5 separate regions of the Homo sapiens genome follow, and all the other regions are linked to region 3. Evidence: promoter capture Hi-C in 16 types of primary human blood cells and fetal thymus (Javierre and others, 2016). All regions are on one chromosome and are shown on one strand. The core of a region is centred on a gene start or on the middle of the fragment in contact, and the rest is flanking DNA. Distances in the headings are between cores, read along the strand shown. Region 1 has its middle 19 kb from the start of CAVIN4. Region 2 has its middle 51 kb from the start of NAMA. Region 3 holds the start of STX17 (syntaxin 17). Region 4 holds the start of LOC124902232 (a long non-coding RNA gene). Region 5 has its middle 71 kb from the start of SEC61B.

Region 1 (5,761 bases), core at 1,154-3,653, 690 kb after region 3:
GAGAGAAATGCTGCATGCATCGTGTTTCTGTTGTTTCACAGTTTTTCATAGTGGGCAGCCATATTGTTGTATTCACCTCTCTCCCCTTATTTTTATTATTTATTTATTTATTTGTTTATTTTTTATTTTTCTGAGAGTCTCACTCTGTCGCCCAGGCTGGAGTGCAGTGGCGCAATCTTGGCTTACTGCAAGCTCCGCCTCCCGGGGTCATGCCATTCTCCTGCCTCAGCCTCCCGAGTAGCTGGGACTACAGGTGCCCGCCACCATGCCCAGCTAATTTTTTGTATTTTTAGTAGAGACAGGGTTTCACCGTGTTAGCCAGGATGGTCTCGATCTCCTGACCTCGTAATCCGCCCTCCTTGGCCTTCCAAAGTGCTGGGATTACAGGCATGAGCTACCGTGCCCGGCTTTTTTTTTTTTTTTTTTTTTTTTTTTAAGGCGGGGCTTGCTCTGTTGCCCAGGCTGGATTGCAATGGTGCAATCATAGCTCACTATAGCTTCCATCTCCTAAGCTCAAGTGATCCTCCCACCTCAGCCTCCCAAGTAGCTGGGACCGCTGGGACCACAGGCACATGCCCACCATGCCTGGCTATTTTTTTTTTCTTTATTTTTAATAGAGATGAGGTCCACTATGTTGCCCAGGCTGGTCTCACATTCCTGAGCTCAAGCAATCCTCCCTCCTTGGCCTCCCAAAGTGCTGAGATTACAGTCATGAACCACCACACCTGGCCCAAATATCTCTCTCTTTGTAAAGCCTTTTAAAATTGTGTGTGCATTCTCTCTGAGATTCTGTAAGTGCAAAGGACTTACTGTGTTTCTCATTAATAAGATAATAGGTATTTAATAAGTATCTACTGAATGAAAACAAATGAATGCCTCTTTGAACTATGGCCTCTTCTCTGAATATCTTTGAATTAGGATCATTTATTTGATGAGTATTTTTTTGAGCACCTCATGTAAGCCTGGCACTCTTCTGGGAGTAAAGTAGTGAACAGAGCCCTTGCTTTCAGAGATTCCAGAGAAAGACTAGTAACTAGCAAATATAGTTATGTTAGGTGGTGATAAGTGCTGTGAAGAAGAAGTCAGGTAAGGGGGCAGGGCATTATGAGTGGGGGTGGTGCAGGCTGCCACTATTTTAGAAAGGGTGTCTGGGAAGGCCTCTGGTAAGGTGACCAGAATGTTTGAATCTGATAGTCAATCATTCAGGTGTTTCTAGGAAGAGTTTCAGTTGTGTTCAGGAGACAGTGTGGTTGAAATGGGTGAGGTGGGAAATGTGGGAGCAGTGGGGTGTCACAGGCTGTTCTAAGGACTTTGGGTTTTACTCTGAATAAGAAGGGGACCCATGGGAACGTGTTAATAAGAACGACATGATCCAATTTATTGTATTTATACTCATTGAAAAAATCCAGCCATTGTGTTCATACAAAAAGCTAACTACAGTTCCTGCCTTAGTTTACACTGCAAAGGAAATCACCCAAACTCCCAAGAGTTTTCCATTCCATGTCCGCTCCCCAAGCCTCACTGCAGCTCAAGGCTGACATCTAGTGGATATTTTCATAATTGTTTATGCACAGGCAGTTTGGAACCTATCCACTGTTGATTAAGAATAGAGGGGGAGGTTTAACATAGAAAATGACAAACTGGATGATTAGTAGAATACTATAGTGGATTTGCCTCTGTTTTTCTTTGGCTCTTATTCAGGTAAATTTACATTTATCTAGCATATATTAGCATGTATTAATTAGAACTGGGTTCAGCTGCCAGAGATTAGAGCATCAAAATCATGGGTTGGTAAGGAGGAGAAAAAGTATCAGGTGGGATGAGCCAGGAGAAAGTGTCCTGGTTCTAGTGGTGGCCCTCAAAAGGTAGCTGTGGTTTGTTGTATGGTGTTAAGGGTGTGTGTATTCCAAACCTGTGCTTGCATCAGGTTGGCATTGATTTACAAAGGGAGTCTACTGCGAAGGGCATGGTGGAATGAAGTTGAAGGCAGCATGGAGATACTGAAAGTTGTGAAGTTGAGTGTTTCCAAAAGCTTAGGTGGGGTATTTCAATGTACAATCAAGAGCTTTAGCTTTATAACTGGAAAATTGGCTTGTGTCTGCCATTTACTGACTGTGAGAACTTGGGCAAATTATATTATCTGAACCCAGTTTCTAAATAGTACCCACCTAAAGGTGTTATATTAAGCCAGATATTTTATGGAAAGCACTTAGCAAACTTAGCATTTAGTAAGCAGTCAAAAATAGGTGTTATTGTTTAGAGGGACTACAAGTAGCCTCTAGAGATAGAGAAGGAGGCTATTGTAATAGTGGTATCTGCATTGCATTTTTTTTTTTGCCCCTAGCATTTAACATTAACAGAATTTAACTTGAAACCATTTTGTAGATGTATATGATCCATTTTATCGACTTTGATTGTGGGCAGTTGCATATTCTGCTTAACTAAGACATAGCATTTTTACTACACAGAGATCACAATCATCCAGTGGCTTTCATAACTTTTAGGAAAAAAAGGCTCAAATATGAGCTCTGCAAGATCTGGCTCCTGCGTGCCTAACTTCATCCTCATCTCTTATTCTTCCTCCTCAGTTTCTGCATTCCAGAGACTGGCCTCTCAGGTCCTCCAATGCCTTATCCCACCTGTCTTAGGACCTTTGCATAGGCAATTCCATTTGCCTGTCCACACTCTTCCCACTCCCCTCCCAACCAACTAAGAATACACCTAGTTAACTTCTATTCATCTTTCAGATTCCATTGAAAATGATACTTCTTCAGGAAAGCTTTCCCTGCCTCTACGTCACTCCCTGACAGGGAAAGCCTCCCCTGTTACACAATAAGAACACTTATTGTAGTTTAAAAATATATATTTAGGTGGTTATTCACTCAGCTAGATTGTAAACCTCTTGAGCACTGGCACCGTGTCTGCTCAGCCCATTGCTCTGTCCCTGCCATGGTGCCTCAGATAGAGTAGTCTGAAAAGGGAGGGATTTTATTTGAAAGTTAAAATGTAGAAATAGATAAAACACTTGGTGACCGAGTATGAGGGATGTAGTGGGTTCTATGGTGACAATCACATTCCCTCTAAGACTTGGCACTCATCCCTCCAGATGCTGGGAGTTTTGACGGCTGATGGCTCTCGCCCAAGTCTGTCTCCAGGAATTGCCCTCAGCAGAGAAAGCCACCTCACCCAAGGTCATGCCCCCTCCTGAGAGCAGCCCACATTGAGTGACGGGTTGACTGAGGGATATGTGTGTGGCTTCTGGCTTCAGCGTGGAACAGCTCTGAAGGACCTTCCTGGGTCCAGAGCTTGCCATAGCATTGGCTGAGGCCCCGGTTTAAACCTCACTAAGTGTTCAACTCCTTGTCTCTGTCCTTCATCCTTCAGCCCTCACAGGTGCTGTTCATGAGAGCATCACTCAATAAGCCACCTACAATATCTCTGAGTCTGTTTCCTAGGGAAGCCAGCCCACAGCTGGGCATGATGGAGAGGGAGGAGTCTAAGGTGGCTCCTGGATTTCTGGCTTGAGACAGCACATGATGTTATCCAGTGAGAAGAGGGACAAAGAAGAAAGTGTACAGAAGTTGAAGCAGGTTTGCTGGAAAAGATATGTTTTGGGGGTGCTAAGTCTGAGGTGCCTGTGGGATAGCCAGGAGTTTGAAGCTCAGAGGAAAGATCTAGACTAGAGGTACAGATTTGGGAGTCATCAGCAAGGCAAAAACAATGGCATTAAGGAGATCTTCACCCCATAAAAGTGTGGAGTGTGAAAAAAAAACAACTAACCAGGAAGCATGTGTGTGGGAGCCAACAGAAATGGGCAGGGGAAGGAAGACACACTTCTGGCAAATATAGTGATCAGAGAGTTTGGAAAACCGGGAGTGTGAGCATTGTGGATGACAGAGGGATTTGCAGCAGTTTCAGATAGATGTGTCAGGAGCTGCAGAGAGAGCAGCATGGAAAAGTGTTCATTGGGGTGCATGACAAGGTCGCTGAGGACCTTGCTGAGAGCAGTTTGAGTGGAGTGGGTAGAAGCAGCCAGATTCCAGTGAGTTGGGGAGATGGGGTGGGAGGAGAAGAGACAAATGTGATAACCTTTGATAACGCTCATGAGATGGGGACAGGAGAGGTAGGTAGGGACAGAGCACAGAAAACAGGAGGGTATTTGTAAATGATGGGGGAGATGAGCTGAAGGAGAAGGCCCAGCCAAGAAGGGGTAAAGCGAAGGCCGCAGGTGTGGCAACTGGTTAAAATTCTTGAGCAGGTGGAAGAAGACTGAGCAAACAAAATTAATCCTGGAGAGGAAGAACCAAATCTCAGGCGCCAGAAGTGACGGAAGCAGGTAACAACAGCCACAATTTATTATGCTCTTTATTTAAGGCAAGGAACTTTAAGTACTTTAACCCTCACAACAAATCTACTCTCGAATACCACGCACCTGGCCGGAGCTGGTGGGGCTGCGGAGGCCTGGCCTCTCTCCCTGGAGCCCCGCCCAGTCCCCAGGTAGGCGGGGGAGCGTACGCTTCCGGCAGGACAGGGTGGTTCCAGAACCCACCGCTCGCTCTCTTGAAACCGGCTCCGCGGGCAGGAGGAGGGAATTTTGCATTTCCCGCAGTAAGCGCGCCGGGGCCGGGGAGGAGCCACATGAAAAGCGCTAATGGCGTAACGCATGCGCGCCGCGGAGAGCCGGTGCAGAGCCGGCGCAGGCGCCGAGGTCTGCGGGGCGGGTGTTCTCTTCCCGTCTCCGTCAGCATCCAGGTTCAGCGCCCGGCTTGAGTCCGGTTTGTTTTGTAGGAATTCCTGTTAATTCCTGTCGCAGTCTAGCCGTCTACCAATAGGAAATTTGTTAAAATATAGTGATGTACATATGATGGGCTATTTTCGCAGCTCCACTCACGCAAACCAGAAATGTAAATTATTCCCTTGTCTTGGTCTCCTTATAGTTGAAAAATTATTCTCTCCTGGCACTGTTTTATTTATGGCTGGCGACTGAGCTGTTTAAGCTTTGCAGTTTCTGTCTCGTTGGTTGAATTAGACTTACGAACAAATTGTCCATATGATGACAAGAGGGCAATGATGACTGAGTTTTTCCTGGGCCAAGCGGGTCAGTGGTAGGGAGTTGGCTACTTGGAAAAAAATTCTCCTTAAGACACTTCCTCTCGAAGGTGAGAGCTCAGCAGAAGGGGATTGGGGCCTCACTGTCAGATGCGTAAGTTGAGGGGGTTGTCGTCAGGAGTCCGCTGGAGGGGAGGCATTGCTTGAGGAAACTTTGAAAGGGCTCCACAAGAAAAAAAAAATCAGCCTTCAGAATTTGCCACACCTGAAAGGCACCATTGTGCCTCCAGATTTCTTGGATGGGAATCAAACAGCAGTGCACTGCATCCCTTGGACTGCAAGCTCCCTGAGTGGTCCCTCAGAGGCCCTCTTTGGTAAGCTTGAGGTTAGAAGCAGGCCCCTCACACCACCTCCTTTGGTTGCGGGTTCAGCAGATCTCTCCAAAGGATCCTCACTTGACCTCTCTTCCCATCTCTATTCTTTGACCTCATATCTTCTTTATGGACAGATAATGAATTCAAGGTTTTAGCCAAGTCCTGCTTTGCAAATCCACCAGGATGGTCTGTTTCACTACTGATTCTGAGATATGGATTCACACTTCCAAATGAGAAGAATTTTAGTTTGGTACTGCAGCATTATGCAAACCAACCTACAAGCAGGCAACACTTTCATGGAACAAAAGAGCTTACTCAACTCTTAGAAACCACGACTA
Region 2 (5,620 bases), core at 3,031-5,530, 580 kb before region 3:
AAATTAATAGATGATTTGCAGAGACTTGGGAGAGAAGCATGGTTCCTTCTGGGCAACTCGAGGGAGGTATCATTGTGGATTAGCATTTGAATTGGGCATGAAAAGACAGGTAGGAATTGGATACAAAAAGCAGGCAGAGGAAACCAATAGTATTTCAAGTCAGAGATAGCAGATCTAAACTGGTGAAATAGCCATTTTTGTAAGGGGAAATGATCAAATATTTATTTTTTAGTTCAACCTCATACATCAAAGCAAAATGCATGGAGGCATATGACAGCAATAAATGTTGGAGGAAAAATTCAGAAAGCCACTTCCCCCCTTTTCTAAGTTTGAACTTCTAGTTTGTTTGCTTTATCAGCTGTTCATTTTCTGATTTTTTCCTTACACAGCCTTGAAGGTGCCAGTTATGCAGCTCTTTTCCAAGAAAAGTAGCCTCTTAGTATTTTTTTTTTATGACATATAAAGCCTTATGCTTTCAGTAGGACAAATTCTGCTGTCTTGATTTGACCAGCTGGAGCTAAAGGCTGACTAATAGAGAAACTCCTCCCTGGTGCCAATCATCTGGCCCTATCAGACTTTGCTTAGGGCAGTTGAACGGGAGAGATCAAGACATAGCAGAAACTCTGGGAGAGAGGGTGGGGTGGAGGTGGGAGAGAGAGTGAGAGAGAGGAAGAGCTAGGCAAGTATTGGTTCAGAGCTGCTATTGCACCCTTAAATAAGTTTCCCACTACTGAAGGCTTCCTGGATGTGTATCTGTTTCTTGAAATCAATAAAAATAGTGTTTGGCATGTTTCAAGGAAAAATCATGAGATATCACCAAACCTCTGAGTTTGTGTCTGCAGGTTATTTTGATTATTAAGATTTTCATATTGGCTTGATTATTCATGAGCTGGAAACAGTCCTTGTGGTAGCCAAGTGCTGGATACCTTATCTCACACAGCTCCTAATTCAGATAAGTACCCAGGGATTTTTTTTCTCCCAAGTCCTGACCAGACATTATAACACATCACATCACTTTATTGCTCTGAGTTCAGGTCAGGATAAGGATGCTCCTAAATGCCTCGGTGTAAAATTCAGAGAAGATGCCACACAGAGAATAGTATTGCTGTGGACTCTGCCTCAATACCCAACTCTAAATGGCAAAAATGAAAAGATATGGTTAGAATGAATTGCAAGCCTTTGCATTCAAATTTATGGAGTTTTCCCCCCGTAAGAATAGAACTCAATAAAAATTCAAGGCAGGGGAGGGGTCATGAGGACTGCTGGGTTACAACGCAGGCAAACCTCTAAAGAAAGAATATAGTAGACCAGCTAATACATTAATTTGAGAAAGAGAAAAAAGGGTGACAAAATGAAAGAAGACACCTTTGAGTGGTATTATTAGTAATTACCATTATAAAATGGAATAAAATTAAAGCAGACAAGAAAAATAGAGAAAAGACATGGTTCACAAAGCATTTCTCATAAATTCAGAAATAGGGAGATTTTGACACAACCCCTTTTTATAATCATAAGCTTCAAGGAATTATAAAAAGGACATTAGAAACAATAATTGGCAAACTGGAAATCATTACCAGCCAACAGGAAGCAATAGAAAATAGTCTTGCAGATGAGAGGGTAAGGACAAGCAAAGCCAAGAAATTCTATAAGTTGGGCTTTGAAACAAGAGACAGTCTTGAGGACTGGCAGAGGAGAGATGTTCTCCAAGCTATAGGTAAATTTGAAGGAAGCAAAAAGGAAAATAGGAGGAAAAGAGGAAGAAAACAAAGGAAAATTCTTACAATAAGTTTCCTGAATAACTATCACAGAAACAGCCCAGGAGCACCTGCAAAGAGAAACCCAAATAAAGTTGCACCAGGATAATTAGTGGCCAAAAATTCTTGAAGTCCCTGTGTAAATAAAATACCTTAACATATGGAAAAAGAAAAATTCTATCCTGTATGTCTCAATATAATAAAAATAGTACCATATTTAGCGACGGCCACTCTAAGAAAAAAATGCAGTGAATGGTTCCTGAGTTATTCCAAAAATAAGAGCCCAACCCCAGTTTTGGTTTCAAGCCAAAACACACCTTTGCCTGGAAAGGGAAGACAAGACTTTTACACAGCCTCAAGATCCACAAAAATTAATCAGTCTTGGTGCTGCAAGAACACCTTCAGAGGTCAGAAAGTTTTCTTATCCTCTTATCCCAGGTGGGCTTAAGACAAGGGCTGTGTTGTATAAGATGACCAGCCATCCTGGTTTGCCTGGGATTGTGGGTTTCCAGGGATGCAGGACTTTCAGTGCTAAAACTGTGACAGTCCCAAACTGAGATGGTTGGCATCCTAGTGCTAGTTTCCCCTATGTGACAACACAGTCAAGCTAATTGGGCTCAAATGTTAGTAAATATACATGTTTCAAATCCTTGAAATTCTTCAGGTGCTGCATTTTACAATTTATTATTACTTTTCTTTTTTTCTAGGGAAAATGACCCTAAAATGTTCAGCATTTGATCGTTAATTTATCCATTCAATTAAATATGTATTGCAAGCTTTATATGCCCTGGGCTGGGTATGGGGTTGCAATGGCAAGTAAGCGCCTCCCTTAATGGAGCTTAGAGTCTAAGTGGGAGAGGAAGGTATGAAACCAACAGACATATATATGCTTATAATTAGAAATGTGATTGATGGTACAAAGGAAAAGAAGTGATATGATTGAGAAGGGCTTGGGGGATATAGCTTGGACTAGGGGAGGGGAGGTCTGGTCAGAAAAGCCCTTTTAAGGAAATGATATGCAAACTGAGACCTGAAGGATGCAAGGAGAGAGAAGCTAGAGGAAGAGTCAGGCTGCACTGGGGAAATGATGTTGCGGATGGAGGCAGAGGGCAGAGAGGTTCCAGATGAGGAGCAGCATGTGCAAAGTTCCTGAGGCAGGAAGGAGCTTGTTGAGTTGAAGGAGTTGTGAGAAGGCTGATGTCTTATATGAATTACAGGGAAAGAGAATTGCTTTTCAGCTGGAAGAGCTAGGAGGACCAGAAGCAATGGTGGTAAAAATGGTCCAAGCAGAATTGTTGGATGGGAGAGAGTGACAGACACAGGGATACATAGACATATTGAGAGATACACGCAGAGGGAAGAGAAACCAAGAAGGTTAAAGGTTAATGGTGGATGGTGATTCTTTCTGCTTGAACTCTTCTAATAGTAGTAGCCTCTAATATTAGTATAGTGGCCCTGAGGTCTTTCTTGACAAACACATATTTTACAAGGCTTTTGAACACAGATGGAAGCAGAAACTCTGAAACAGCCAAAAATAAGACAACAGCAGAGATTTAGAAGGTCATGCCATAGAGGATACAACCCTACTGAATCTGAGATTTGCTAAAACGAACAGAAAAAAACCACAAAGGCTGTCTTCAGCTAAGTGCCAGAAGGGGTGCTGGCATGTCTCATGTCCAGAAGACCCAGAAATGGCTGAATATTGCTCACCACTCCATCTTAAGAGGTCCCCAAAGAGGTATACCTGAGGGACTATGGCATACCAAAGCAGCATATTCTTGCTGAGCTTGTGCCCAAACTGTAAAGTAAAGCTCTGGTAAACTTGGCTGAGAGTGTGACCGAGGCCCAAAGCTTAAGGGGGGCTTCTCTCAATGGTGAGGGCTAAACTCAAGTCATATGACCAGTCTGCATCAGCCTCAGGAGGTCAGAGGCTGTCTTAGCCTGTTCAGGCTGCTATAACCAAAAACTATAAACTGGGTGGTTTATCAACAATAGAAATTTATATCTCACAGTTCTGGAGGCTAAAAGGCACAAGGTGCCAGTAGATTTCATGTCTAGTGATGACCTGTTTCCTGGTTCATAGATTGTGCCTTCTTACTGTGTCTTTATGTGGTGGAAGGAGTGAGGGTCTTTCCGGGACCTCTTTTATAAGACACCAATCTCATTCATGAGGACCCTACCCCCATGACCTAATCACCTTTCAGAGGCCCCTTCCTAATACCATCGCCTTGGGAGTTAGGATTTCAACACATGAATTCAGATCACAGAAACATTCAGACCATGGCAGAGGCCAAATAACACTCATCAGAAAGAGAGAGTGAACTGCAGGATCATATCTCCTCCCATGAAGAAGACTCTGGTGCTCTCATCACCAAGTTCATGAAAAAGAACAAATAGAGGGGGTGAGCCACACGCCAATAGGCATGATTGTGAATTACTCAGGGCCTTTCCCACAGGTACACATAGCCCAGTCAGGGCCCTGGAATCTGAGCTTGCAGCTCGGAATCCACTTCTCTTGGAGCAAAGCAAGGAGATGGCTGTAGATGGGTGGAGAGTTTGAGTGCACCTGTTCCTTTAGAGGCCTCCATTCCTGTAAACCCAGTGGCCTAACAGCCAAGACTAAGGTTGACTAGGGCATGCGCCACCTTTCTTGGGGAAGGAGATTAGCAGGCTGCATGGGAAATCCTACTGTGATGTCCCCATAGCTGCTGGGATTGGGATAAATGTCAGATGGTCCACAACTCTAGGTAAAAGAGAGACAACAAAACTACTCCTTTCCATTCTGTGTCCAAAGTCTCCTTTGAGAAGGAGATGTCAACTGGAAAGGATCAGGCAAATGTAATTAGAAGGGATTGGAAACCTGAGACCAAGGAAGAGAGGGGAGTGGATTCAAGTCTCCCAGCCTAATTACGTTTCACCTTAGTGTACTAGAAAAGTGCAGGGAGGTGGGCTCAGTGATTCTGAGTCATTGGAGAGTCAAATCTCCCTGAAAAACTACACGCTATAAAAGATCATGTACATTTGAAAAGTGAAAGAACATGAAGTTTTAACAATATAAAAAAGGAAGTAAGAAATTAAAAAATGGAAAGTGATGAAGGGTCAGTTCCAGAAAACTGGGCACTGTAAACTTTCCGTGGGGTAAGCTATCTGGTGCATAAGAACCCTAGGAGGTGAGTCATATTTTCCACACTTTATAATAGAGGAAGCTTAGGTTTATAAAAAAAACTTTATGACAGTTGGTGAGGATCTAGGAATTAAACCCACATATGTTGATGTGGAGACATAGTCAAATACAATTAAAACTCTCTCCGGTGGCTCCAGTATACCATGTCACCTCTCTAAATGACACGCAAGCAATCCTGAAAAACTTCTAGCACCGGTTACCAGGCATGATGATCTATATGAATCCACACTTGTGGTTCCTGGGTTAGCTGGTTCTATTAAGCCTTAGCAAATAAATATTGTTTCTTTTTGTTTTTGTGGACTGGCAGAGAGGAGCTGCCAAATCTCTATATCTTGGCATCAGCAAGTCATCTAGATAATTTTTTGAGAGCTGGATGCTTTTCCTAAAGCACAACTGAATCCATAACCTGTTCATTACTCAGGGTAAACCTGTAGGGAAAATTTTTCTATGACTCCAAACTCCATCTTTGGACCTGTTAATGATTGTAAATAAAGTCTAGGTGAAGAGGTAAAAAGGTGTGTTTTAGAGTTTGAAAGATGAAACAAAAGAAAGAGTCATGGCTAAACCATTGGACAGGGTGGGACAACTGACCTAAACCAAGATGATGGAATTTAGCCAAACTAATAGTCCAATGCTCAGCCATGGGGAGCCTCTCTGTTTACCAAGAAGACCAGGAAGAGGC
Region 3 (6,074 bases), core at 2,801-5,300:
TCCAACCTCTGCCTGATAACCAGTTCCAAAGTTGCTTCCACATTTTTGGGTACCTTTTCAGCAACGCCCCACTCTACTGGTACCAATTTACTGTATTAGTCCATTTTCATGCTGCTGATAAAGACATACCCAAGACTGGGAAGAAATACAGAAGAACTGTATTTGGACTTACAGTTCCACATGGCTGGGGAGGCCTCAGAGTCATGGCGGGAGGTGAAAGGCACTTCTTACATGGCAGCAGCAAGAGAAAATGAGGAAGATGCAAAAGTGTGGAAACCCCTGATAAAACCATCAGATCTCTTGAGACTTATTTACTACCATGAGAACAGTATGGGGGAAATCGCCCCCATGATTCAAATTATCTCCCATGATTCAAATTATATCCCACCAGGTCCTTCCCACAACATGTAGGAATTATGGAAGTACAATTCAAGATGAGATTTGGGTGGGGACACAGAGCCAAACCATATCAGTGGGAGAAGCTTCCTAGGTGAGATGACTTTTGAGTCCAGCAGAATAAAGAGTAATTTCTTTACTCTGGGGTGGGGGGAAAGAGATGGGGGAAAGCAGGCAAAAAATGGCATTCTAAGAAGAAAGAGTAATAGTTGCAAAATCAATTTGGATTTTTTAAAATGTTTTATTATAGAAATCATAAAGGGGGCCTGGTGTGGTGGCACACACCTGTAATCCTAGCACTTTGGGAGGCTGAGGTAGGAGGATCACTTGAGCTCAGGAATTGGAGACTAGACTGGGCAACACAGGGAGTCCCAATTTCTAGAAAAATAAAATTAGCCCAGCATAGTGGCATACACCTGTGGTTCCAGCTTCTTGGGAAGCTGAGGCAGGAGGAGGTCAAGGCTGCAGTGAACCATGATCACCCCCATTGCACTCTAGTCTGGGTGACAAAGCAAGATTCTATCTCAAAACAAAACACGAAGGAAGGAAGGAAGGGAGGGAAGGAAATAAGAAAGGAAAGGAAAAGGAAGGAAGGAAATAAGAAAGGAAAGGAAAAAAGGGAAGGAAGGAAGGAAATAAGAAAGGAAAGGAAAAGAAAGGGAAGGAAGGGAAGGAAGGAAGGAAAAAAGAAAGAAAAGAAAGAAAAACAAGAAAGAAAGAAAAAGAAAGAGAAAAATCATAATGGGATTTTGATAAATTTTTAAGTTAGTTTGGTGGAAATGGACAACTTTACAATATTGACTGTATTACTTTTCCACATAGTCAAGTCTTTACTTGTATCTTATATGGAAATATGGAAGTCAGGTTAAAGTATAAATACTGTTACGTAAGATTTGAGTCTTACTCCTGTTATGTAGTATATGAGACTTGGACCTTGGTCAAGTTACTCTCTAAGCCTCAATTTCCTAGTTTGTATGAAGGGGGTGATTGTAATACCTACTTCATGGGTTGTCATCAGTATTAAATAACATATTGCATGTAAAGCGCCTAACCAAGTGCTTTACACATCACATGCAATCAAATAAAAAGCTACTTCTTCCCCCCTCCCTTTTTACATGGCTTTATTTAGGTATAATTCACATACAATAAGCACTTATACATAAACATATTTACAGTGTACAATTTGGTAAGTTTTGACATATATATACGTCCATGCAGCTATTACCACAATCAAGATAATGAACATTTCTATCACTCCCAAAGTTTCCTTATGCCCCTTTGTGATCCTTCCTTCCACCCCTATCCCTCATCTAGCTATTATTCTCAATTCTTCAAATAGGTCTTGTAATTCCTTATAAACACAAACTTGATTTTTGTCATTTTTGAATGTAATCTTCCTCCCAGTACATTTCAATTTTTTTTTTTTTTTTTTTTTTTGAGACAGGGTGTCAGTCTTTTCTGCAGGCTGGAGTGCAGGCTGGTGGGATCATAGTTCATTCCAGCCTCAAACTCCTGGGCTCAACTGATCCTCCTGTTTCAGCCTCCTGAGTAGCTGGGATTATAGGTACATGCCACCATACCCAGCTACGTTTTTTTTGTTTTTTTTAGAAATGGGGTCTCACTATTTTGCCCAGGTTGGTCTTGAATTTCTAGCCTCAAGCAATCCTCCCTCATTGGCCTCCCAAAGTGCTGAGATTATAGGCATGAGCCATCACGCCCAGTCTTCTTCTCATTACATTTTAAAATTGATGATTGTTGTTTAGGAGAGGTATTTTATAGCCATCTTATTGAATTAGTTTCAGTTTATTCCATGGATTTTCCAAGAAAGCAATCAATCATAACACCCTAAGAATTTTTTTTAATTTTCTTTCCAACATATACACTTAATGTTTTGTTTGGACTTGCTGGGTTCAGTTAGGACTTCAGGAAAATGTCGGCCAGTAGTAGCAGGCCTGCCCCTAACAACTTGATGACCTAGAGTACACAAAAGAGGTCCACACACCATATGTTTGAATATTTAAAGATTATAAATCAAGCTAACCAACAGTTAGATTAAAAGGTTTTGGTCGGGCATGGTGGCTCACACCTGTAATCCCAGTACTTTGGGAGGCCGAGGCGGGCGGATCACGAGGTCAGGAGATCAAGACCATCCTGGCTAACATGGTGAAACTCTGTCTCTATTAAAAATACAAAAAATTAGCCGGGCATGTTGGCACACGCCTGTAGTCCCAGCTACTCAGGAGGCTGACACAGGATAATCGCTTGAATCTGGGAGGTGGAGGTTGCAGTGAGCTGAGATCATGCCACTGCACTCCAGCCTGGGCGAAAGAGCAAGACTCTGTCTAAAAAAAAAAAAAAAAAAAAAATGTTTATCCTACTACTTTGACACACCTAACTTACAGCAAACATACATATAACAACTTAGAAGTCCAGGTCCAAATTTAGAATCTTTGAGTACCACACCTCCTGATTTTGTACCTGAGGAAGCTTTTTCAGAACTTAACACAAATGATCTTTTATTTCAAAAGATCTTATTTCACTGATCCTTGCATAAAAAACATTTTCTCACAGTATTGCCTAATACTTTAATTTTTCTCCTTAGAATCAAAATTTGATAAATACATTCTGGAGCTCATTGTAAAACAAATATCAGTATACATTATGTCCCCAAAGAAAATCCAAATTGCTTGGTAGATTTGGTGCTTTGTTTTAGAAATTGTCTTTCAAGGCTTTTTAAAGGATCTACAGGCCCCTAATCTTCCCTGTTTACCTCCTACTCTACTGGAAGACCCTAAGAACTCAGTTTCCTTAACTGTGGTTTGAACATCCTGATCACTTCTGAGACAATGCCATTAGTGAATACATTCTAAGCACGTCATCTGAATATTCACAGACATCTTTTTAAAAGGGCTGGATCTGGAAGTTAGGCCATGAAGAGAGGAGGACCTGTGACTTGGACAAGGCTTCAAAGCCGGCCACCTGCTTGTTCATGTGGTTGCAGCTGGTCTAACTGGAATAACTTGGGAAGGAAATTAGGACACCCAGTTGGAGTTCCAGCTCTGCCATAAGCTGGCTGAACTGGAGTGAGTCACTTAAAACTCTTTGTTAAACCCCAGAGTCATAATCTATAAAATCGGGATAAAGACGTTTGCCTTAAGCCCTCCACCAGTTTTTGGAGGAAACCACAATTTGCTGAGCTTTAATTTTTACACCTGTTGCAATTAAGATGGCACTCCTGCCCTGTCCACTTCACAGGGCTTTTGGGGACGGGATGGGGAGGCACCACCTTTCTGAGCTTCAGTTTCAAAACAGAGCTAAGAATACATGCCCAACCCGCAAATAAAATTCTAGGAAGAACAGAGGAAAACGGACAGGAAAACTGCGAAATGCAGTCGGCCATACAAGCATGAATTGTCTTAAACACAACAAGCAGACCTAAAGAGCGTTTGTGCGTCTCTCTCCTCTTGGCTCGAGTCACAACCCCATAACGTAAATCAATATCACTTTTGAAAAAGGCTTTCGCTGTTCTCAGCAGCGTCCGCATTTGTACTCACCTGTGCGCCCCCAGCGCCCGGCCTGGGGGCCCTGCGGGGCGGGGGCGGGGGCGGGGGCGGGGCCCAACCCTGCCCACCCCTCGTGATGCCCCGCCCCGTCGCTCCTGCGCCTGCGCCGTGCCCACCGACCGGCCTCGAGCGCCCCGGCGGGAGGTAAGGGGCTCTCTGGAGGCCGCCTTTGGGGGCGTCGGGCCCTCACAGGCTTGGTGGGCCTGGCGCCCGTGTGGCGCGCGCAAGAGGCGCTGGGCGGCAAGTAGGGCATTGGATCCGAAGTGCGAGCGCCATGGTGGCTCCTCCTGTTTTTCAGAAGTGGCGGAGCCTCGCTTGGTTTCGTTTTTGGAAGCTTTATTGGAAGCTGGTATAGGGAGGCCGCAGACGATGCGAGCAGGACGGCCTCCCGGGGTCGCGGGGTGGAAAAGTTTCCGGCGCGCGTCCTGTCTCTGGCGCGCTGTAGGCCCCGGGTCGCCAGGGTCGCTGGCGTCTGGGTCCCGGGACAGACCCGCGCATCCGTTCGCTGGTGGGGGCGTTTGGTGTGTGTGGCCCAGGTGTGCTGTGGGTGACACTGCGAGGAATGACGCGACGCTCGATGGTAGTGAGGCTCGGAGGACTGGGAGCGAGAGGCCGGAAGCCCCTGCTCGCCAAACCCAGAGGTGGTTGGCAGAAGGTCCCACACCTTGGCTCCCTCCTTTTAGCTAACCGAGGTTCAGAGAGGAGACTTTACTTTGACTTTTCTCTCCAAATTCGGTATCTCTTCCATAAGTCAGAAACATTAAGCGGCGGGCCGGAAGAAATCGGGCGCCACTAGTATCCTGAAAAGTGGGAGCTCTGGGCCGATGGAAGGTGTTCGTCACTTTTGGGGGCTGGGTTTCCTGAGAAATGGGGTCTTTCACTTATTAATAACCTCCTAAGTAACTTACTGGGAAACATGAGTATTATGGTACCCATCTCATATTAGTTGTAAGCACTACATGATAAAGTTTGTAAAGCACCTGGCACAGTCCTGGCACCCCTCTCTCCAAGTATTAATGCAGTGAATACGATGGCAGTTCTTTGACTTCTAAATGTTTTTACCTGTCTTACGTGAAACATCCTCTTATACTAAAAAACTTTTTTATTTTGAAATAATTTTAAAATTACAGAAAAGTTTCAAAAGTAATACAGAGTTCCCTATTGCCTCCATTAATAATTTTTTACATACCATAGCGCAATTATCAAAAGCAAGAAGTTAATATTAGTATAATACTATTAACTGAATTACTAACTTGTGATTTTTTTTCCTGTATTAATGTCCTTTTTCTATTCTAGGATCCACTCTAAGACCCGACATTGCAGTTAGTTGTCTTGGGTCCTTGGTCTCCTCCAGTCTGTGACAGTTCCTCTGTCTTTTCCTGTCTTTACACTGATAGTCTTTTTCTGTCTTTATACTCTTTCTGATCTTTACACTTTTGAAGAATGCTGGTCAGTTATTTTGTAGAGTGCCCCTCAAATGGGGTTTGTCCAGTGTTCTCTCATGATTAGATTAAGGTTATACATTTTTGTTAAGAACACAAAAGTGTGTGTGCCCTTCTCAGTTCATCATATGAGCATAGCTGATATATATGACTTATTGCTCGTGAGGTTAATCTTGATCACTTGGTAGAGAGTGTCTGCTGGGATTCTCCAATGTAAAGGTCTTATTTTTCTCCTTATAATTGACATCTTGGGGGGGAGCTTTTAAACCGTACGCATATCCTGTTTCTCCTCAGACTTTCCCTTGCTAAATTTCACATCCATTGGTGGATCTTGCCTTCAGCAATTATTATGACTATGGTGTTCTAATGATGATTTTCTACTTTCCTCATTTCTTTATTAATTGAAATTATTCTGTAAGGATGAGCTGCCCATTTCCCATTTGTTTATTTGTATTCCGTTATTTATTTGTATCCATGTGGACTTAGATGTTTTTCTATTGGTTGTTATCCTACACTTGTGTTATTTTATGTTTGAAATTGTTCCAGCTTTGATCATTGGGAGTTTTCTTTCAGGTTGCTTTCTGTAGCTTTTCAGCATGCTTCCATCCTTTTTTTTCTTTTTTGGAACTTCCTAATTTTCTGGTACCATAGGATGCCCCAGGCTCATCTTGTG
Region 4 (6,226 bases), core at 3,443-5,942, 540 kb before region 3:
ACCGAGGCCCAGAGTGATTCCTCCATGTTCCATTTTCTTCCTTCCTTAGAGTTTCCAGGGTTCAATCTATATATATAATATTTTATTTTATTAATAAATATTAATAAAATTAATATATAATATATATAATAAAATTTATTAATAAAATTAATATATAATATAATATATAAAATATAATAACAATTGATATATATATAATATAAAATTTATATATATATAAATTTTTTTTTTACTTGTGCCATCAGCTCACTCTATCTCTCTGTGTCCCCAAACTGCATAGGGCAGGTCCTTCCTGCTGAAGGGATGTGGCGAGGATCCTGAAATTATCCCCACTCCATAAGAGAGAACTCCAGGCAGGCTGGGGCTCAAAGTCCCAAGTCTAAGAGGTTAGAAGTGCATGGGACTCTGAGTCAGGCTAGTCTAAACGGCTGCCAGGGTAAGAATGGGCCTGGCAAGCCTCTGAAAGCCCTGGAGCCTCCTTCCCCTCAGCAATGAGAGGAAAACCCCGAGGGTTCCACCAGCAGCCCCACCTCACCACCCACAGCGGGCCAAGAGCTTTATTTAGCTGAACTGAAATCTCACAGACCTGGAACATGACTCCTAAGCTGGTGTCCTTGCTGCCTAAGAGGACAAAAGCTCGTGAGTGGGCTTGGCCCCTCTGGGAAGACAGCCACCTGCCTCGTGCTTGCTGATTGTCTCACCTCGAGGGCTCTTACTTTTAAAATAACATTTAATATATTTAATCTCATTACTTAAGCAAGATCTATTCAGTGTAGAATATTTGGGAAATCCAGAAAAGTATCAACAAGGAAATTAAGTTTACCATAATCTTACCAATTAGAGACAAGCACTGTTAGAGTATTAATAGTTTTCTCCTTGATTCTTGAGTCATGGATATGTGTATAGTTCCAAAAAGCAAAACCAGAATTATGTTTTATATACATTTAAAAAGATAATGAGTTCTAACATACTATAGTAAAAGGCACAGTTCTCAAGTGTGCAGCTCAGTACATTTTCAATTTGTTACACCCTTGAGAACGTCACTCAGATCACAATATAGAGCATTGCCAGACCCCAGAGAGCCCACCCTGCCCTTCCTCAGTCAATAGCTACACGCCACCTCCAAGAAGTCATCAGTCTTGTGACTTCCATTGTTGTAGATTACATCTGCCTATTCCCGAGCATTGCACACATGGATTCATACACTATGTCCTTTTGTGTCTGGCTTCACTCACCCAATCTGTAGCATCTGCCACAAGCCTGGCCTCGAAAAAGCATGCCACATTGGCACGTTAAATGTATATGAGGTGCATGCTGAGGATTGAATGAATGAGTGAGTGAATGAATGAATGAGAGAATAGGCTTTAGCTGAGGTGTGGTCTCCCAACAGGATCCTGTGTTTTTAGTAACTATAATACCTGGTAGGCCACGGGGAAAGGGAGAGCAGGCAGGTGGCTGGTGGAATAGTCTGGGTGAGAAGAGGCGGCAACCCGAACTAGAAGGACGGTGGTGGGGACAGTGAGGAGGGAGCAGGTTGTACATGCCTGTCCCATCTGCCTGGCACTCATGAGCCCCATGAGAAGCAGGACAGATGTATTTTTAGAAATCCCCTCATACAGAGTAGCCACTCGACACTGTGTGGCTGCCTCACTGCCACAGAGTCCCAGGGACCAATGCCGAGCCCCCACAGGGGTCAAGCTTCTGGGCTGTGAGCTCACAACCCCCTACCGCCCTGCTGAGCAGGCAAGAATCATGCTCAGGTGATGAACAAGCACAAGGCAAGAGGACCCAGATGACCCTGGAGAGCATCCCACTGGAAAACGCAAGCACGTGGCTCATGGAGAAATGGGTGCTGTTGCCCTGCACCCCCAAAAAGAGATTCTTACTCCCTAGGATCAGAGGCATGGCATGGCTCCAAGCCAGGGTAGCCCCTGTACAGTTTAAAGGTGCCAGGGTTGGAAAGGACCCCTCTTCTGCCCTCACCCCGCCCAGTGCTTGAGCTCCCTTTGACATTCTTTTCAACACGGGCTCAGCTTTCATGCCTCCTTTTCCCTTTACTCCATAATCAGCACCCTAGACTTAGCCACCACTATCTCTCGCCTGCTCTGTCTTGCCACCTTCTTTCTCCGTCTGCTCCTGCTCCCTCTTATCCTCTTATCTGTCTCACCCTGCAGCCGGGAGTCGTTGCTCGCCATAGATGTAGCTTGTGACAAAGTGGCTGGACCCTGCCAGAGAAGGAGCAATGTTATTGGAGAGGGACGGAGCCAGAGCAGCAGGAGAGAGCCGCTGGGCCATGCCGGTGGGAGGAGGAGCCACGGAAAGGACAGTGCCCCGGGAGCCACCAGCAGCAAGGGTAAGATGTTTAATGGAGGGACAGGGCAGGCAGTGCTTGGATGGCACAGGTAGGTCTGGTACCAGGCAGGATTTTATTGTTTGATGAAGATTCATTGCCCTTGATTCTTCTCCTTGGGCTTGTACTTAATGATGGTGAGAGATGAGGAGGATGAAGGGGAGGTGCATACTCTTTTTCCTGAATGACAAAGCTGGGAGCTGGCGATGGCTTTGGGAATATGGGAAGTCAGTTTTCAGAAAGCTATTGGAGTAAAAGATTGTCATGTTATAAACTTCTAAACCACAGATGAACAGGCTTGAACAAACTGTTAGAACACCTAGTGTTGATTATTGAGAGTGTTTCTGCAGTGTGTGACTTGGCATGGTTCATTCGTGCTGTCCCTGAGAACAGTGACATTTCAGATTAGCAGTATTTTGGGGTTCCACTTGAAAAGAGCCCACCCCTCAGCTGACTGGTGCTGTCCTCTGCTGGGTGATTTAATGGTCAGGCATGCTTGGTGGAGAGGAAGCAGCATCACGGCAAGGCACCTGTACCCATCTGCCAGTTTGGATGAAGTGCCAAATCACAGGGTCAGTAATGCTTCTTGGCCAGAAAACATGAGCTGAGCAGCTGTCCCTGCCTGCTATCCATGAGAGGTCCTCTTACCAATTCAGCCTCAGGGAGGGAGAGAGTCCCCTGTAGTCAGACGGGTATGTGAGTGTCACAGCTAGGGGCAGAGGGAGACCAGGGAACCTGCCCTTAGCCACTCACACAGATATGAATCCAGGAAGCTGAAAGGGAGCTCTTTCAGGCCAGGATGGAGGATACTCCCAGCATCCCCTATGGTCAGATGCATGGGTCCTTGGAGCACTCAGGGACCAGCCTAGGAGAAGAGATGGGAGCTGAACGTGTTATAGTTAAATAATTCCTAGATTGCAGAACATCTCCCAGCTTCATTTTTCTGTTTTGTAAAATGAATATAAATGAGATGAAGGATGCAAAATGCCCATAAACTGAATGGCATTATTTGAGTCTAAGTCATTATTTGCCCTGAAATTTTTGCATTTAACATTTTTGTCAACAATTTGGAGGCAGATACTGGATGCAGGCTTATCAAACATGTACAGAAAATAAAGCTGGGAGGGCTAGCTGAAACACAGCTATAGAGGACTCCAGATTGCAGAATCTGAAAGCTCAACTCTCCCCTGGCTTCCTTCCCCTGGATGCCTTCTCTGTGTGACCCTCAGAAAGCACAGTGCCCCTAACAGAACTCCATTTTTTCGTGGTGTGGCTGCTGCTTCTCTGTAGTGGGCAGAGAGGCCAGGGATACTCCTAAACACCCTACCATGCTCAGGGTTTCTCTGTCTCAGCAGTATTGACGTTGTGGACCAGATCATGGTGTTGTGGGAGCTGTCCACACGGTAGTATGGTAGGATGTTTAGCAGCATTCCTGGCCTCTGCGCTATAGATGTTAGTAGCACTGCTGCTCCTCTCTTTGTGACAAACAAGTGTCCCTGGGGTACAAAACTGTCCCTGGTTAAAACCTCTGCTCTAGATTCATCCTTTGCACTTCCCTGCCTGCATGGTAGCTCCTCTGGTCACGTCAAAGTTCTCATAGTTCCTTAAATAAACAAAACTTTTCCACATCTTTCCCAGAACTTTGCATGCACAGATCCCTTCCCACTCCTGCCTTTGCCACTTCATAAAATCCTGTGTATCCTTGAAAACTCATCCGAAGCATCCCTTCCTTGCAGACGCCACCCCAGATGCTCCCGGACAGCTAGTGCACTCACAGCAAAGTTCTCCTGGAGCCCTGAGTGCATGGATTTAATTTTTCTTTTTGCTTGTGATGGTCTCTCCCACTGGACTATAAGCTTCTTGAGGGTAAGTCCTGGATCTTTCTCACCTTTGCTCCCCAGTGCCTGGGAAGTATGGCCTAGCACAGAGTGGGTGCTTAGTGAATCCACCTTGAGTAACATTGTTTAATGGATCACTACTGGCTGGTCACGGGACATACAATGCTGTAGGCAAAAAGCATATTTTCTGGATCTTAATCATGTAAAGGGTCCAGTACTCCACCCTCAGGTATCAGAGCACCTCATCTCTTTTGCAGAGAAAAAAATAACTTATTTTAATCTCCAGGATGCTAGAGAGGTTTAGAGAAGTTTCCTCCTGCGAAAACCTTTTTCAGGCTCTGCCTTTGAGAAAACACTGAAAGGATAGCAGCAGGTAGCACTTTCTCTTCAAAAGATGCCTGAGGATGGGCACCAATCCCAGCCAACCTTTCTGCCTGTGTTGGGAGCAAGGGGCTCCACCTAGTCTTTCTTGAATACAAATGTGATCCGTCGGGTCCAACAGCAAAGCCCCGCCCTCCACTGCCAGGACTCTGGGCTGCGGGACTTTCTCCAGCTCTCCCCTCTGCATTGTCAAAACGGGAACAGACTGAGCAGAAGGAACGCGTTTGTGCTGAGACCAGAGCCAGGGCAGTACGCAGCAGATCCAGACAATCTGCTCTGCTCCTCCCAAGGAGAGAGGAAAGGCTTTTATTTCTTGCTGACAAGCAAGTCTGCAATGGGAAAATCTCTGGGGGACCAAAGCTAAGCCAAGTGAGAGATGCACGCCCCACACTGGTGTGCCTCACCTGCCTTTATACAGCCAGGCTTCAGTGTGTGTGTGTGTGTGTGTGTGTGTGTGTGTGTTAGGGGTGGTGGTGGTGATGTGCATGCATTAAAAGAAAACTCATGAACTGTCAGACACAAAATATCAAGTGCCCCCACTGCTTGGACACCTTCAGTGACAGGGACTTCTCACCATCTTAACAACTGTTAGACAGCTCTGTCTAGTAGAAAGCTTTTGGTCACTCTGGTGGTTTACCCTTTGGTCCTAAGTCCAATTCTTTGTTCTGTTTAGAATTGGTGCAATCCTTTTTCCCCAGGAAGGATTGTCAGAGGCAACCACTTTACCAGCCAAATCCCTTCTTCTGGCTAGAGACCCAGTTCTTTCAACTCTTTTCCATGTGACACAGTTTTGAGTCTTCTCCCTTCCTGATCACCCTTTTCTCATCAGTGCAATAGGTAATACAATACTTTTGTTTTTTCTGCAGTTCTCAGAGAGTAAGTTATTTGGGGTGGACATGTTTTCCACACAGCTGAAGAGCAACAGAATTTTAAAAAAAAGCACAATGGAAAAATTGTCAGCATGCAGGATACAAGTCCCTTTTAGACTGTGTACATCCCTGCCAGTTCTCTCTCTGACGTTTCTCACTATCTCTGACTTCATCTCTCACTACTTCCTCCCATGTATCTTCTTGCACCTCTTTGTACAACACCTTCCAACAAGATTGGACTCTTGTGCTATTCCTGAAAACACTAGGACCAATGAGAGGAAGCCAGAAGAAGTCACCTGATACCTGGATGCCTGGCACCTGGATACGAGAAGCACCTTCTAATGGCCAAAGAGTTCACCGCTGGGAAGGGTGACACCAGCTGGGGGTGAGCTCTCCACTGTGAAGGTGTGTGGATGGAGGCTTCTGGTAGGGAAGTTCTTGACAGGCCTGGACTTAACAAATCTGCTAGGTACTTGCCGTCTCTTTCAGCCCTGTGATTTTGTGATTGTGGGCAAAGATTCCGTAAGGGCGTGTGTGTGTGTGTGTGTGTGTGTGTGTGTGTGTGTGTGTGTAATGAGGACTCTGGGGTATCCTTTTGACAGCTGTGGGAGGGGGAGCAGAAAGCCATTTCCTTCAGCCGGGCTGCCGTAGGGCTGGCAACTGAGCATGCCTGACTCAGTCCGTGGCTGAGCTGAGCTGCTCAAGAAGAGGGGAGGCACAGTGTGGTGACAGACAGGAAGAAAGAGGGCCTGGTGCAGTCTCCCATGCTGGGGAACTTGCGGGTCAGG
Region 5 (6,029 bases), core at 29-2,528, 610 kb before region 3:
AGTTGACACTCAGTATTAACCATCACACTGGGGTTTCACTTAGCATCACTAGGAGCTGGGTCTACTTCATCCTTTCCCAGCACACAGCCTGGCAGATACTAGGCCTGCAGAAAAGTTTGGGGGGAACCAACATCTTCAATTCCCAGAACGTCTGATTTGCAAAGACTTGGAGGTTGTCTAAACCAATTTCCCACCAATTTTAGGAATTCCTCTTTTAGACCATTTTGCAGATAGTCTTCTAGTCTCTGCTTACATACTTCCCGTTATGGGAGACTTGCTATTACTCAGGGCAGCCCATTCTCTTTTTTTTTAAACCACCCTAATTTTAGAGCTTTCTAATTTTACTCAATAGGATTAATTTTTTCACCATTTGCATCAAGTTTTGGCTGGAGACTGCAAAATCATGCAGTGAGAGAGTTGGTAAATAAGAATTATTCTGGGTTTATGGATGACGTTATGAAATAGTGAAAAAGCTGACAGAGCACACAGTATAACTTTTATAAGCTTTGCTCAACTAGTCAGAAACAGGTCCTCGGAAATGTCTATTCATTTCTGCTTCCAGTGTTTATTGGGAAAATTCTTATATGGTTATTTACAAAGCCAGACAGAAGTTTATAGAGAGTTTGAAGGTAGAAGTTTATAGAAGGCTTGATGTATTTGTCTGCATGCTAATCTCCTAAAAGTCCTCATTCTGGGCCACAGTTTTGGGGAGTGGAGTAGTTGTAGTTCTTAGAGTGCATCTGAAAGTCCCTGGAAGGAAGGGGTTAGGCTTTCCATTTTCTAAGAGACAGTCTTGCTGCCTTCTGGAAGGGATGCTCAGATCTTAGGATAGGTGCCTCCCAATAACCCAGAATGCTATCTGGAGTTTAGCCAGAACATTAGTCCCCTTGGATTAATTTGGAATTCATTCAAATAGTCATTCCCTAATGCCTACTTTATGCAAGAATTTCCCTCAAGGTGCTCGCAACTGATTGGAGGTAAACAAAGACATGATAATGACTCTGGTCCCAGCCAGAAAGTTCTTAGAGCCTCCTTATCCATGCAATCTGTAGTAGAGCGAGGCCTTCCAGGAAACTTCAGAGAACCCCTCCTCTAAACCCTTTTCCAAGAGCAAATAGGTGAGATTTGGGGGAGACTATTGTGTAATAGAAAAAATACCCGAAAGGAGAATCTGGTTCCCTGAGGGGAGAGGTCCACTTGCTGCTACCTCAGTGTTCTTTTGTAAAGTGAAGAATCTCTAACATGCGTACTGGCTCTAACATGCTGAACATTTACAACTAAAAAGCAGTCACAATCCCTGACCCCCAATTGCATAGAGCTTCATGATTTCCATCCTGCTCTCATTTGAATCTAATCCTCATGGTCCCCTGAGAGGCAGATGGGACGAGGACTATGATTTCCATTCTATGGATAAAGAAACTGAGGCTTAGCTCGTGTCCAAGGTCGCGTGGCAGGGGAATGGCTGAGCCTGGAGTTCAGGTCTTTCCCCACCCACTGCGATTGTTGTGGGGCCTTCAGGTTCTGACAATCCATAATTATATAGTCAGCCTTGAAACTGCAAAACATCTAAGGGGGTGGGGGGAAGGTGACTATTAAGATGGTGAACGTAGCTTTTATGTGGAAGATATCTCAATACGAAAGCATTTGTATGGAAGGAAAGGAGGAATGTGGGCTCAGACCATCTCTGGGATAGTGGTCTTTTGTCAGTTTATTAAATTCAGATTTATTGCTGACTTTCTGACCAAAAACATAGCTGTTAGCAGTCTGTAATAAAGCAGAAATATGAATTTTCAGTGAATCTGAGAAAAAAAAATAAAGAGAAGAGACGTTAATGACCTGTCGCTTGGAATAAATCTTAGTGGTCACATAAAGTAGGATGACAGGAATTTATATTGTCCCTCAGCACTTGAATGACTAATGTGGCTAGAGTGGAGAGCCACAGAAATTACTTCTCTTAAAAAGCCAGCACCTGTTTGCAGGCTTTTGGAACTGTTTGATGAAGTCAGGGAAGGTTGCCTTGATGTCCCCCAGTCAGGCTCTTGGTAGACAGCACCAAGCTTGAGACAGAGGTGGTGTTTCAGCCCTGTCCTAAGACCTTTAACTTGGCTGGTCTCAGAGGCTGTCGAGGTTCCTGAGCTGTTCAGGGAGGACCCCCAAGAGGCTAGAGAAGATCTTCTGAGAGACATTGATGAGCAGGGCAGGGGCAGCCAGAAAGGGTCTCAGATGGCCTCAGGGTGGATGTCCATCTGAACAGGTCCCCGATCCCACCACACACTGGGATCCTGGATTCTGTAGTATCAGAATTACTAGGTTAGAGCCAGAACAGCTCCCCAGAGATTTGTTAGTTCGACACCTCCATTTTTTTCAGATGAGAAGACTGAGATTCACAGCACGGAAATAAGTAGCTCAAACATACAGGAGAAGAGAGTGGCAGGTGCAGAAGGAGAGCTCAGACATCTAGACTCCTGGGCATCACACGGCCCCTGTTAGTGTGACAATGGTCCTTCCTTATTCGAGTGTGAGTGAGTACAACCCTGCATCCCATTGATATCCAACAGATATGCCATGTTTAGTGCTGGGAATGTATGATCCCCAACCCAAACAATCCCACTAAGATACTTCCTGTGAAAATCATTATCCATCCTAAAAACCTCTCTCACTGGTATAGCGTGTTACCATCTACACCATGTTTTCACTTATGGGATTCTTGCTAAATGAGTAGATTTTCACTGCTCTTGCCACACACACACACACACACACACACACACACACACACAAATGGGTAACGATGTGAGATGATGGGTATGATAGTTTGCTTCACGTTCTCTTTATGTGATCCTCACAACCATACTGAAAAGGCACACAGAACGTCTACTTTTATTCTTTTTGTACAGATGAAGAAATTGAGGTTCAAGGAGTAAGAATCTCCTGAAGAATCCATATGTCTTTCAGTGAAATTCTGAATGTATTGTAATGAAGTACGGTTGGTGGGTTAAGTTAATGGGTTAGTCAACACCGTTGCTGGGCACCATTAAGAACACAGAAAACCTCCAGCTCTGAACCTGTACCCCCTAGCTCTGACGCTAAGACACTGCTGTCCATTATGGAAAGAAGAGATCATCAAAATGCTCTGACCTCTTCTGGAATTGCCCGGGACCATCTTTCCTCCCAGAGCCCACAGAACCAGTTCCTGGAGGTTTAAGTTAATGAAAGCCAGCTTTTTCTATAAACAGTTCACCTAAAATGTAATCTCTTTTTGAGGGTTTCTAGATCTGATTTGGGTGTCCTATTCTTTTCTGTCATTTAAAAACACACTGTAAGTATTTTAAAACCCATTCATCAAAGGGAAAACTTCTGGCTAAATTTTATGCTTTTATTCATTTATCAAATTTACAGCATTTTATGAAGAGGGATTTCTTATCTATGTAGGTGTCTTTTCTATTAAACGGTACAAAACTACCCTTTCCTCAAAATGATATGTATGTGGCAATAAATAACTGCATTAAAAATGGGAATTCCAGCCAAGTGTTATGCATGGATACACCTGATCCTGTCTTTGTAATTATGGATGATATGTATTGATGCTGGGGATTATTTATCTCATGCTCCATAATTGGCTATTAATTTATGAATATGAGGGCTATATTACAGGTAACCCAGAATGAAATGCTGCAGATTTGATTTATTGTGACCTGATAATGGGTGTTAGGGGTTATCCAAGCGACACACAGAGTACACAGAGGACACTGGAAGAAGCTGGAGTGTCGGAAGGCTTTGAACTTTGACAAATACCAGATATGTGGAAGGGTTTTAGGGGCCTGAGATTTAAGCCCATTTAGAGCTTAAAATACCTTACTAATGATGACTTTAGTAGTCATTTCATTGATTCATTCATTCCCCCATTTATTATTTTTATTTTCTTTTTGAGACAGGGCCTTGCTTTGTCACCAAGGCTGGAGTGCAGGGGCTTAATCACAGCTTACTGCAGCTTTGACCTCCAGGGCTTAAGTGATCCTCCTGCCACAGCCTCCTGAGTAGCTAAGACTACGGGCATGCACCACCACGCCTGGCTAATTTTTGTATTTTTAGTAGAGATGGGTTTCCCCATGTTGCTCAGGCTCATTCCCCCATTTCAAACATATTATGGAGCACCCACTGTGTGCCAGGCTCTGGGCTTGGCTCTGGGACACAAATGGTGAGCATAAACAGATATGTTCCTTGACCTCCTAGAGCCTATTCTCTTGTGAGAACGGCACACCTTAAGATCACCACACATTTGTATCCTTCTCCCTTTTCTTCTTATTTATAGAACACTGATATTGTTTGGGTTGACAAGATGCCCAACTAAAGAACTACATTTCCCAGATTCCCTTGCAGCTGAGGGTAGCCATATGACACGTTCTGGTCAAAGAGATATAACTGGAAACCTGCTGGTTATTTTGGTGACGTTGCTTTCCTGATAGGGTGGCTGCCTCTTCCATCTTGTTGCTTCCTTTTTCCGCCTTTCCTTAGAGAATATGAGTATGCAGCTAGAAGTGAGCGGTTATCTTGCAACTATGAGGTGGCAATCTAGAATTGTTATGTGAGAAAAAATAAGCACCTACAGATGTGGTTAAACACATGGTAACTGCATCTTTTTTACATACGACCAATGCAGTTCCTACTGTTACACTCACGTGTCTTGGGTGTGAGATTATGAGGCCAGAATTCTCTGAAGGGGTGGTAGGAGCCTGGAAAGGGTGATCCCAGCAGTGGTCAACTGCCAGGACTTGAGAAATGTGTCTGCAAGTGCTAAATAAGGTCTAGACTCCCGTGTTTCAAGGGCTACCCCGACGTACACAGCATGTTGGAGTGATCTGTAAATACTCTATCTACCACCCACATTGCACTGTGAAGTGGACACTGCCCACTTCACAAGGTTGTCACTTAGGAGGTAGAGATGGAAGAATGTGAGTGGAAGTCTCTTGAACAAAGGAAGGTGCTGCACAGAGGCCAGTTACGTTTCTTTTCATACGAAATAGTCTGAAATTAAAGACAGACAGGAAATATAATATGTATGTACATATCACATTATATATAATGAAAGCCTAAGGAAAGGTGGATTTTTTTCTTTTAATTTAGAGATGGGGCCTCGCTCTGTAGCCCAGGCTGGAGTGCAGAGGCACAATCACAGCTTACTGCGGCCTTAAACTCCTGGGCTCGAGTGATCCTCCCTCTTCAGCCTCCTAAATAGCTGGGACTACAGGGTGCAAAACTGGCTCCTGAAGGATGATGCAGAAGGCACTGGTTACAAAGGGCTGCATAAAAAGGGCACATAGATGGCGTGCCCAGCATAGCAAAGTCCTGACAGTACGAAAATGCTGGGAGCCCGCGTAGGAAAGAAACAAGCCAGGACCCAAGGACTTTCATATTTTAAAGAATGGATTGGAAACTAGATGACTGCTCAGTGTAAATGACCAATGGCAGGGTATAAGGGGTGTGTGCGTGTGTGTGTGTGTGTGTGTGTGTGTGTGTGTGTGTGTGTGTTTATGTTGAGGGTGATGTGGGGGAAGAGAAAAGCAGCGGATATAATTTTCTCCAACAGCCAGCTAAGCTGAAGGGATGTAGAGCCTATGATTCAATTTTTCAAAGCAGTATTTGTAAGGCTTCGGGGTCCAGAGCTAGAAGTGACTCTGCAGTACAAGCCTGGAAGAAATCCAGGCTCAGGACCGCCTTCCCTTTCCTCCCCAGAGCCGCCCACCGACTGTTTGACATGCACAAACTGGAGTTCTTTCCACACGGCGTGGCAGGGCCACGGAGAAACCGCTCCTGGGTAATTAGACAATTAGCTCCTTGCACTCTTCCTGCAGGAACAAATCCGGGCCCCCATGGCATCTGTCCCCTCCTGTTCCTCCAGCTGGCCTCCTTGCCACGCGCACACCCTCCCCGGAACCAGGCCCGGCTGCCTGCGCCCCCCGCCCCCTTCCACTTCCGCCACCAGAAGGGGTGCGGGGAGGCCGGGCGGGAGGGGAGGGCCCAAGGCTCGCGGG

The links. Contacts are between HindIII fragments. The CHiCAGO score rates a contact against its expected background, and 5 or more counts as called.
Region 1: a fragment that was not itself captured here is called in contact with the fragment with the promoter of STX17 in region 3 in 1 of 17 cell types (fetal thymus); the score reaches 13.0 in fetal thymus.
Region 2: a contact is called between a fragment that was not itself captured here and the fragment with the promoter of STX17 in region 3, in 1 of 17 cell types (M1 macrophages). The highest score is 6.1, in M1 macrophages.
Region 4: a contact is called between a fragment that was not itself captured here and the fragment with the promoter of STX17 in region 3, in 1 of 17 cell types (M0 macrophages). The highest score is 5.9, in M0 macrophages.
Region 5: a contact is called between a fragment that was not itself captured here and the fragment with the promoter of STX17 in region 3, in 4 of 17 cell types (M0 macrophages, M1 macrophages, M2 macrophages and 1 more). The highest score is 14.5, in M0 macrophages.

Annotation. Positions count from the first base shown.
Region 1 is chr9:100,594,256-100,600,016 of GRCh38, forward strand. No RefSeq gene overlaps it. Among named protein-coding and RNA genes, the nearest start is that of CAVIN4, 19 kb to the left of the region's middle. RefSeq lists an enhancer at 4,492-4,786. The HindIII fragment of the contact is 747 bases long and covers 2,031-2,777 here.
Region 2 is chr9:99,321,924-99,327,543 of GRCh38, forward strand. No RefSeq gene overlaps it. Among named protein-coding and RNA genes, the nearest start is that of NAMA, 51 kb to the right of the region's middle. The HindIII fragment of the contact is 1,355 bases long and covers 3,604-4,958 here.
Region 3 is chr9:99,902,604-99,908,677 of GRCh38, forward strand. STX17 (syntaxin 17) reads left to right here and starts at 4,051. Exons shown (of 8, transcript NM_017919.3): 1 at 4,051-4,103. It overlaps STX17-DT (STX17 divergent transcript), which reads right to left and starts at 3,998. Exons shown (of 3, transcript NR_038853.1): 1 at 3,951-3,998. RefSeq lists a silencer at 3,790-4,189 and an enhancer at 4,350-4,589. The HindIII fragment of the contact is 1,410 bases long and covers 2,882-4,291 here.
Region 4 is chr9:99,357,285-99,363,510 of GRCh38, forward strand. All of the region lies in intron 5 of NAMA (non-protein coding RNA, associated with MAP kinase pathway and growth arrest), which reads right to left. LOC124902232 (a long non-coding RNA gene) reads left to right here and starts at 2,048. Exons shown (of 3, transcript XR_007061692.1): 1 at 2,048-2,353; 2 at 4,087-4,216. The HindIII fragment of the contact is 976 bases long and covers 4,205-5,180 here.
Region 5 is chr9:99,290,649-99,296,677 of GRCh38, forward strand. No RefSeq gene overlaps it. Among named protein-coding and RNA genes, the nearest start is that of SEC61B, 71 kb to the left of the region's middle. RefSeq lists a silencer at 5,852-6,029. The HindIII fragment of the contact is 1,553 bases long and covers 503-2,055 here.